Linked DNA regions of Homo sapiens: all the other regions are linked to region 2. The links are contacts of gene promoters, found by promoter capture Hi-C in blood cells and fetal thymus (Javierre and others, 2016). All regions are on one chromosome and are shown on one strand. The core of a region is centred on a gene start or on the middle of the fragment in contact, and the rest is flanking DNA. Distances in the headings are between cores, read along the strand shown.

The links. Contacts are between HindIII fragments. The CHiCAGO score rates a contact against its expected background, and 5 or more counts as called.
Region 1: a fragment that was not itself captured here is called in contact with the fragment with the promoter of LINC01530 in region 2 in 1 of 17 cell types (total CD8 T cells); the score reaches 6.5 in total CD8 T cells.
Region 3: a fragment that was not itself captured here is called in contact with the fragment with the promoter of LINC01530 in region 2 in 1 of 17 cell types (non-activated CD4 T cells); the score reaches 5.5 in non-activated CD4 T cells.

The regions. Positions count from the first base shown.
Region 1 is chr19:56,671,924-56,674,623 of GRCh38, forward strand. It overlaps LOC105372473 (a long non-coding RNA gene), which reads left to right and starts at 56. Exons shown (of 4, transcript XR_936110.4): 1 at 56-508. The HindIII fragment of the contact is 2,649 bases long and covers 1-2,577 here.
Region 2 is chr19:51,593,060-51,595,799 of GRCh38, forward strand. LINC01530 (long intergenic non-protein coding RNA 1530) reads right to left here and starts at 1,321. Exons shown (of 2, transcript NR_034159.1): 1 at 890-1,321. RefSeq lists enhancers at 1-400, 401-1,036, 1,037-1,672, 1,419-1,728, 1,939-1,988 and a silencer at 2,071-2,238. The HindIII fragment of the contact is 8,842 bases long and covers 1-2,455 here.
Region 3 is chr19:56,604,018-56,606,961 of GRCh38, forward strand. The region is part of intron 2 of ZNF71 (zinc finger protein 71); the gene reads left to right. All of the region lies in intron 2 of ZNF71-SMIM17 (ZNF71-SMIM17 readthrough (NMD candidate)), which reads left to right. Among named protein-coding and RNA genes, the nearest start is that of ZNF71-SMIM17, 10 kb to the left of the region's middle. The HindIII fragment of the contact is 7,069 bases long and covers 1-2,944 here.

The DNA of each region.
Region 1 (2,700 bases), core at 3-2,502, 5.1 Mb after region 2:
GGCGCTGACCCCTGGGGGCCCGAGGAGCGCCGGGCTGCTGCCCCGAGCCCCGCCCACTACAGCCTCAGTGCATGGCGGTGGGCGCTTCCAGTAACTCAGGGGTGGGACTTTTTTCTTGCTCAGGGGATGAGGCCGAGCCCACAGGCTTAGAAAGAAGGAACTTGAGTCCGGGCACCTGTCATCCCAGCGCTTAGGGAGGCCGAGGCGGGTGGATCACCTGAGGTCAGGAGTTCGAGACCAGCCTGGCCAATATGGCGAAACCCCCGTCTCTACTAAAAATACAAAAATTAGCCGAGCATGGTGGCATGCACTTCCAGCTACTTGGAAGGCTGAGGCGGGAGAATGGCTTGAACCTGGGAGGCGAGGGTTGCAGTGAGCTGAGATCGCACCACTGCACTCCAGCCTGGGTGACAGAGCGAGACTTCGTCTCAAAAAAAAAGAAGAAGAAAGAAGGAAGCTGAGGTTCAGACAGGCTAAGTCCCTACTGCAGGCTGCGGAATCTAAAAAGGTAGGTGCCAGGGTTTGCAACCCACACTTTTATTTTGGTCTCAGGTAGCTGATGTCATTCCAGTCTATGGCAAAGAAGGTGGCAAATCCATTAACATAGATGAAGAATTTCATTTTACTTTTTAGTTTTATTTATTTATTTATTTTTATTATGTATCATGCTTTTAATACAAACTTTAAAAAATCTGGAACAATAGAAACTGTACAGATTTGATCAATCTTTTTGTTTTGTTTTTAAACTAAAATCTCTAAACACACCAATGTCCTATTCCAAAATATTGCACAACATTCTGAATACAAAACCCTTGATTGTATTCCTCCTTCACTGAAGAAAAAACTTCATGACCCTGCTCCCCGGGCTCCTCTCCAGGCTTGCGTCAATGCCCCCTTCCCATCCCTAGGGAGAAAACTAGAGAATCTATAACTCACTGCATTGAGAAAAAGACATCATTCTGGACTAACAGTTTCCATTCTTCAGAAGATAATCCACCTTTTGATTTGTTCCTGGGAAACAGGGATAGATAGAGGATGGGGAAAGGGGAGAAAAGGTTTTATTTCTCCTCTTTTTTTTTTAAAGTTTGTTTTTCCTGAAAAAATATGTTTCTCTCATCTTTTTAAGAAAAAATCTTGAAAAGAAAAAAATTGTTTTTACGTTAGAAATATACATATATTATATATACCTCTTACATTTTACAAATGTAGCAAATTATTCAATACAAACGGACACCAAAAAATGTAAAAAATAAAAAAAAGTTTTCCTAAGAACCAGGTAAATTAGTGCAGATTTCTGTTTTTGTTTTCTTAAAAAAAATAAAATTGAAGCAAAAGTGCCTAGATTTGAGACAAGACAGACTGAACTGGGCCCAAGAGCCCAGCACTGGAGTCATGCTCCTGAACACACATTTTTCTTCGTATTTCAAAAGACACAAAGGGGTTGGTCTCCCCCCCTCTCCCTACATGTGAGAAACAAGCAGACCTGGTGTGGGTGGGTGCCTGTGTGTGTGGATGGGAGGAGGGATAGAAGGGGATGTAAGGCAGCATCCAACCTTTCCCAGAGAGAAGCTATCTGCTGGGCCTGTCACCTGTGTGGGAGCCGAGGATGAGGGAAAGGGTGGCCCAGACTGGGCTGGCCCCTGAGAAGTCTAGGGGAACAGATGGTGCTGGGCTGAGAAGCCAGGACATTGCCTGCCGGGGGAGGTAGAGCTGGTGCCTACTGCAGGGAGAGGAGGCTGGCAGTGCCGGCCTGGGCTGGACCCACTGCCATAGCAGTTGCCTACTTGGGGTCCCTGGGTAGGATGGAGTGGGTGGGGTGCCAGGGGCTTTGGTGCTTTCTGGTGATGGGACCCTGATGCCAAGTGCCCACTTTGCAAAGATGAAAAAGTTCATGACCCTGCTCCCTTGGCTCCTGTCCATGCTTGCCTGGCCTCCTGGGGTTGGAGGAACAAGCTCTCTCCTGGCAGAGGCAGGAGAGAGTTTTATTTTTTAGAAACAGTTTCGCTTTGTTGCACAGGCTGGAGTGCAGTGGTACAATCACGGCTCACTGCATCCTCGACCTCCCCAACTCTAGTGATCCTCCCATCTTAGCCTCCTGAGTAGCTGAGATTGCAGGCATGTGCCACCACACTGGCTAACTTTTTTTTAACTTTTATTTTTTGTAGAGATGAGGTGTCGCTATGTTGCCCTGGCTAGTCTTGAACTCCAATCCTTCCACCTCGGCCTTAAATAATTTTAATAGTTGACATGCACATGGCATTTACTATTGGCCGGCATTATTTTAAGGTGCCTGCTCTGAAGGAATTCTGTTAGCCTTCCTAAATTATTCCCTTGGCCATTGGAAACATAGGCATGAGATCATTTTTAGATAATTGGAAAAGCAGAGAAATCTGTGAAGATAGAATGGGAAAAAAAATGCATTTCACTAAACCAACATGCCATTGATTGTGAGATTCCACATTACTTTATGTAGCCCCACGGCTGCCCTTAAACCATGACACATGCTTTATTTACAGTTCATATTTTACTTATTCGTAGACCTCAAGAGGCATTCTGTGCTTCCCTCTTCCTTCTGGAAGCTTCATGAGAAGGGACATTTTCCTCAAAGGATGGACAACAGAAACAACTCAAATATTCATTTCCTTTAAATATGGTTTTTAAGACAATTTTCTTTAGAAAGCCACATTTACCTGTTGGGGG
Region 2 (2,740 bases), core at 71-2,570:
TGGGGAGGGGCAGCCATGTGAGCCTCAGGGAGGACCCAGAACCAACCACCCCACTTCCAACACTGATTCACCTCCAGGGCCTCTGCTTGTGGCCAGGATCTTCCCCCTCCAGCATATGGTAGCCTCTGAAAAGCAGGTGGGGCTGGGAGAGGAGCATCCCGCTTAGTTTCACCCTTCCAGAGACACAGGAAGGCATGGAGGCCAAACACCTGTCTCTGACAGGGTCCCCATGCCACAGCCCAGCCCTCCAGTCCAGGGTAGCCCATGTCCCCCTCAGCCCAGGGCGGCCCATACCTGCCTCATCATGTCAGGACCTGCAGCTCCTGCCTCCCACCTGGCAGTGATGTCATCCTCATCATCCCAACCCCACTACACGTTGGAGAAGCCATTTATCTTCAGGTAGTGAGTGGGGTGCAGGGCAAACACCCCTCCAAGGCACAAGCTAACGGCTTAATTGCTGTTGTTTCCCCATGTTCTGGCTTGCAGCACTTGTAACCTCTGGGCTCCTGCAGCCCTTAACATCTGATACCTTTACATTAAGATTTATCATCCTTATCTCTGGACCAGGCTGAATACACCTGTGTCCCGGTGCATCTGGCCAGCGGGTCAAAGGGCCTAGCACACAGATTAACAAATGAATGAGTTCCAGTTACCAAAGTTCAATCCTTGAGGTGGACAGAAGACGCCCAAGGCGTGTCTCCCATCACCCTTCACTCTCAATCCTCCTTATCAAGGGCCTCACGGGAATAGTGATAAGATCTCAGAATATACAGGAGGGAGCAGTTTCGGGAAGGGGGGCATTGGAAGGAAGTGGAGGGCTTGGATCTGGGGAGCAAGCGGGGAGAGTGCTCCGTTCCTTGGTTTTGGGATCTTGCCTTACGGGTCTCACCTGCCCTCCATCCTGGCTTCCACCTGGCAGGGTGTGTTTGTGTCAGAAAGACGATTGTGCGTAACTGTTCACCGCGTCCACGTCCCGAGAGTTGCGCACGCGTGGAGATCTGCAAAACGCTCCCTTTCAGCTCCGCGCATGCACAGAGACCCCACCCCGCAAGTCCTTGCCCTTCGGCCTGGGCAGGCGTCCACTCCCATGGCTGCAGGGCGCGCCGAAGAGCCCACTCTGCATCCCCGAGACGCGGCCCAATCCTAGGAATGTGCTTAGCGCAGGTGCTATCTTCCCTTTTCACATTCCCAATCTCTTTCTCCGCCCCCTCAAACTCTTGCCATACTCCCACAACAGCAGAAAATCTGAAAAAAAAGTCCATCCCATCTTTGCACTGACAGCAGTGCACAGCAGCTGGCAGAGAATTCTGGCACGGCTATTGTGCTTGCGCAGGCGCAGACGGGAAGCGGGCCGGACCGGCCTAGTACACTCTGGGAGGCGTGCGCAGAATGCGCAGCGCTGCCGCGAGGATCTCTGGGAACTGTAGGCCCAGTTTGTCCGAGAGCCGCAAGTGTTTCGGGACGACGCAACGCAGGGGCACCTGGGAGTCGTAGGCGGATGGGCCCAAAGCCTTCCGGGAGTCGTAGTCCTTCCGCCCGCTCCTCGTTTCTTTGGAGGTTGGCCCTTCCAGCTCCAGTTCTGCCCAGGTGAGCGCCCATCCCGCGGCCGGCCGGTCCTGGCCCTTTGTCGCGATGACGTGGCGGAGTTGAGGGTCTCTGTATTTCTCTCCCCCGCGTTCTGGTAGGCGTCCCTGGAAAGATGGCACCCTTTTCCGTGATCTCTCAATCCCTCTCTCCGGGTGGGAGTGCTCTAAGCAGCTGTTGTACCTGCTGACCCGCTTTGGATTCTGCGGCCCAGCCTGACACCTTCTCACTCTCGCCCTTCAACCTGGGTGCAGTGCGAGTGCACCCTCCTCTGTCCTGGTTACAACACAGAGTGGTCAGGGCTGGCCCAGGGGGTGCTCAGGAGGCTGTGGGAACACAGAGGAGGTGCTAGACCCAGCCCAGGGTTCAGGAAAGACCTTACAGAGCAAAGGACCTCAAATCTACCACATCCAAACGAAATCCCAGATTCCCTGTCCTAAACCTGCTCCTCTCACAATCTTTCTGCCTCCTCCCCACTAACTGTCCATCCAAGTGCTCAAGCCAAAATCTTGGAATGGTCGCCAGTGTTCTGTTTCTCTCATCCGCTTCCCTCCCGCAACCAAATCTTGTGTGAGTCTCATCGTCTCTATCTCCAGAAGAGGCCCAGAATCTAACCACTTCTCTCCACTTCCACTGTCTCCATTCTGCTCCGAGCTACCGTTACTCCTCACCTGCATCACTGCAGGGGCCTCCTCACTGTTCTGTTTCTTCCCTTGCCACACTCCACCCTCTATTCAGGCACAGTGCCAGGAAGCCTGTGGAAATATAAATCAGATCCTGTCACCAGTCACTACCCTGCCCCCCAGCTTAAAATCATCCAGTGGTTCCCATCTCAGAATAAAATCCAAGCTCCTTATCCTGCCAACCTCTAAGCTTCTGGTCCTTTCTGGTCGTCCTCAGTCACAACACACTTTCCAATGGGCTGAACACAGCCAGGCCCTGCCCTTCATGTCCTTTGCATTTGCTATTAACTCAATTTGGAGCATTCTTCCCACCCTGACCCAATATCTGTCTACTCATTTTGTTGGCCTCAGCTCAAAGGCCTCCAGCCACCCTAAAGAACCCCCTCCCTGTTCCCCCCCCCCCAGTCATACCACCAAAGATAATTCCCTCGTATTTGGAAAGCATCTTAGTCATTTACTTCCTTATCCATGGC
Region 3 (2,944 bases), core at 243-2,742, 5.0 Mb after region 2:
GTTCTGTGTCTCAGCACAACCCTGGTGCCAGTCTGGGCTTGGTGCCTGGAGACTGCTCAGTGAATAGTTGAGTGAATTAGGTGGGTGTACTTAGGGAAGACTTCCAGAAGGAATTGTTGTATTACAATTTTGTAAAATAAATAAATATAGGTGTGAGAGGGAACTTTTGGAGGTAATGGATCCGTTTATGGCCTTGATGGTGGTGATGGTTCCACGGGTGTATATGCATCTGCAAACTCATCAAGTTATGTATATTATTAAATATGCACAGCTTTTTATATATCAGTCACACCTCAATCAAGTAGTTTAAATTTTTAGAAAAGGAGGAATTATTAGCTGGGCTGGCTGAAAGATACATTGGGCCAAAAGGTCAAATAATATCATATAAGGATCTACAGTTGTACATAAGATATATATTAAATATCAACATTAAATAATAGCAAGAGTCGACATTTACTGAGAGCTTCCTCCATCACACGAGGCACTGTGTTTGGACCATATTTGTACACATTTAACCTTACGACCCTGTGGAGGGGGACATTGTTATCAGGAAGCCTGCCTCTCATATGAGGCTTAGAAAGAGAAAGACAGTTGTCCAAGGAAACACAGCTCATGAGGGGCAGAGCCAGGATTCCGTTGCAGAGTGTGGTTCCTGAGCCTACACTCTGAACCACCAGCCCAACTGCTTTCTATCAAAGGTGACCCCTCAGGCAGAGGAGGCTATCTTGAGCCCAAGCCCCAGAAGGGCACCCTAGGACCATAGAGGGACTAGCCAGCGGGGGTGAGGCCTCCCCTTGGGATTCAGTTGGTGGTGGGGACACTCAGTATGCTGGAGAGAGCCAGTGAGCTCTGAGTGTCAGTAACAATAGCTGGCACTTATTGAGTGCCTGCTGTATGCTATGCATTACCATTCTGAGTGTCTTACATAAATAAGTGGGCAGGTGGGGCCTGTAGCAAATTGGAGCTTTCTTGCCCCATCAAAGGGTCAGCCACCACTCAGCTCCAGCCTAGAGTGGCCAGATATTCTGCTGTTTAAAGAGAAACTAGAAATTCATTTTCTTGGTAAATTGTGGATGTGTTTTTCATGTGAGTAACAATTAAAAACAATTTTGAAACCCCCATAGGAGCAAAATAGAAATGTGTACAGCTGGCTTCAGGCCCAGGTACATCTCATATGCTCTGTGTGCTCAGAACTCCCGTTCTTTCCTTGTGCCTTGGGGGTTGTACCACTGAATCAGTTCAGAACAGCAGGTCCCTCTGTAGGACACAATAGGTCTCTCATTACTCACATGCCATGCTGTGAGGAAGCCCAAGCAGCCACAAGGAAAAGTGATGTGGAGAAAAAGAGATGCCCACCAAGGCCTCAGCTGTGCCATCCATACCAGCTCAAGAGACAGACTTGTAAACAAAGAAGCTAGCAGACTACTCTAGCCCAGCTGCCATCCAACTGCCACCACACAAGAGATGCCAGGCACGAACTGCCCAGCTGAGCCCATCAACCCCAAAATAGTAATAAATTGTTGTTTTTGAGCCATTAAGTTCTGAGATGGCTGCTACCCAGCAAAATATAACTGGATCAGAAATTTAATCTGTGGCCATGGCTCAAGATCTTCATGTGGCAGAGTCATGCATGGATGATGTGATCAGCCAGCAATAATGTGAGACGTGCAGGCCTTCATCACACTAGGGAGGAGGTCGACTGTCAAGCACCATCTCTGGAAGTGGCTTCAGGATCGCTTGTGATCTGTCTGGAAGAGAAGCGCCAGCTGGGACACTCTGTGATATTTATCCAACTGTCTTCTTTATAGGCAAAAGACGTGCCATCCATCTCAGGGTCTGATCCAAACTAAACTGCTCCTTGGCTGTGATGCCAGCTAGATTGGTATTATACATGGATGAGGCCATCTAATGTTGGGGCTGAGAGTTGAACTGACTAGGTTTAAAATGCTGCCACTCCCATCTGTGTGACCTCTTGTGCCTCAGTCTCCCCCTTTGTAAAAGAAATGAGCTCATAAAAGTGCCTACATAGTAGGGTTCTTTTGAAGATTAAGTGAGATGGTGTGTGCAGTGGGCTTAGAACAATACCTGGCATGTAGTATGTGCTTAATGAACATTAGTTATTTTTATCATTATTTACTAATGAATTAGTATGGAAGAAACCTGGTGCCAATACCATGTCTGTCTTATTCACAGTTGTATGCCCAGTGCCTGGTGCATGGCAGGCACTTAATAAATATTCGTCAAATGAATACATGAAAGGGTGAAGTATCACTCTGTGTGTTTCCAGGAACCATCAATGAACATATTTAGAATATGTTAGAATATGTATTAGATACCATTGATCTAGAATTCCTGTTTAGGGGGTAAAAATTCAACCATACTTTTCTGGTAGCCCGGAAAATTATAAATTAATCAGTTAAATTTCCGATCCAGTTATATTTTGCTGGGTAGTAACCATCTCAGAACTTAATGGCTCAAAAACTACAATTTATTACTATTTTGGGGTTGATGGGCTCAGCTGGGCAGTTCGTGCCTGGCATCTCTTGTGTGGTGGCTGTTGGATGGCAGCTGGGCTAGAGTAGTCTGCTGGCTTCTTTGCTCACATGTCTGTCTCTTGCTGTGGTATGGATGGCACCGCTGAGGCCTTGGTGGGCATCTTTTTTTTTTCCACATGGATTTTCCTTGTGGCTGCTTGGGCTTCCTCACAGCATGGCATGTGAGTAATGAGACATAATGAGACACCTGTTGTGATGACTGGCTTCTCCCAGAGCAAGTGTTCCAGGAGGCTGAGGCAGGAGCTGGAAGTCTTCTGTGATCTAGCCTGAGAGTCCCAGAACATTACCTCTGCCAGATTCTATTGGTCAAGCAGGTCCCTAAGGCCAGCCCACATTCAAGGATGGGGGAACTAGACTCCACTAGTGAAGGATTTGAGGCCATTTTCAAC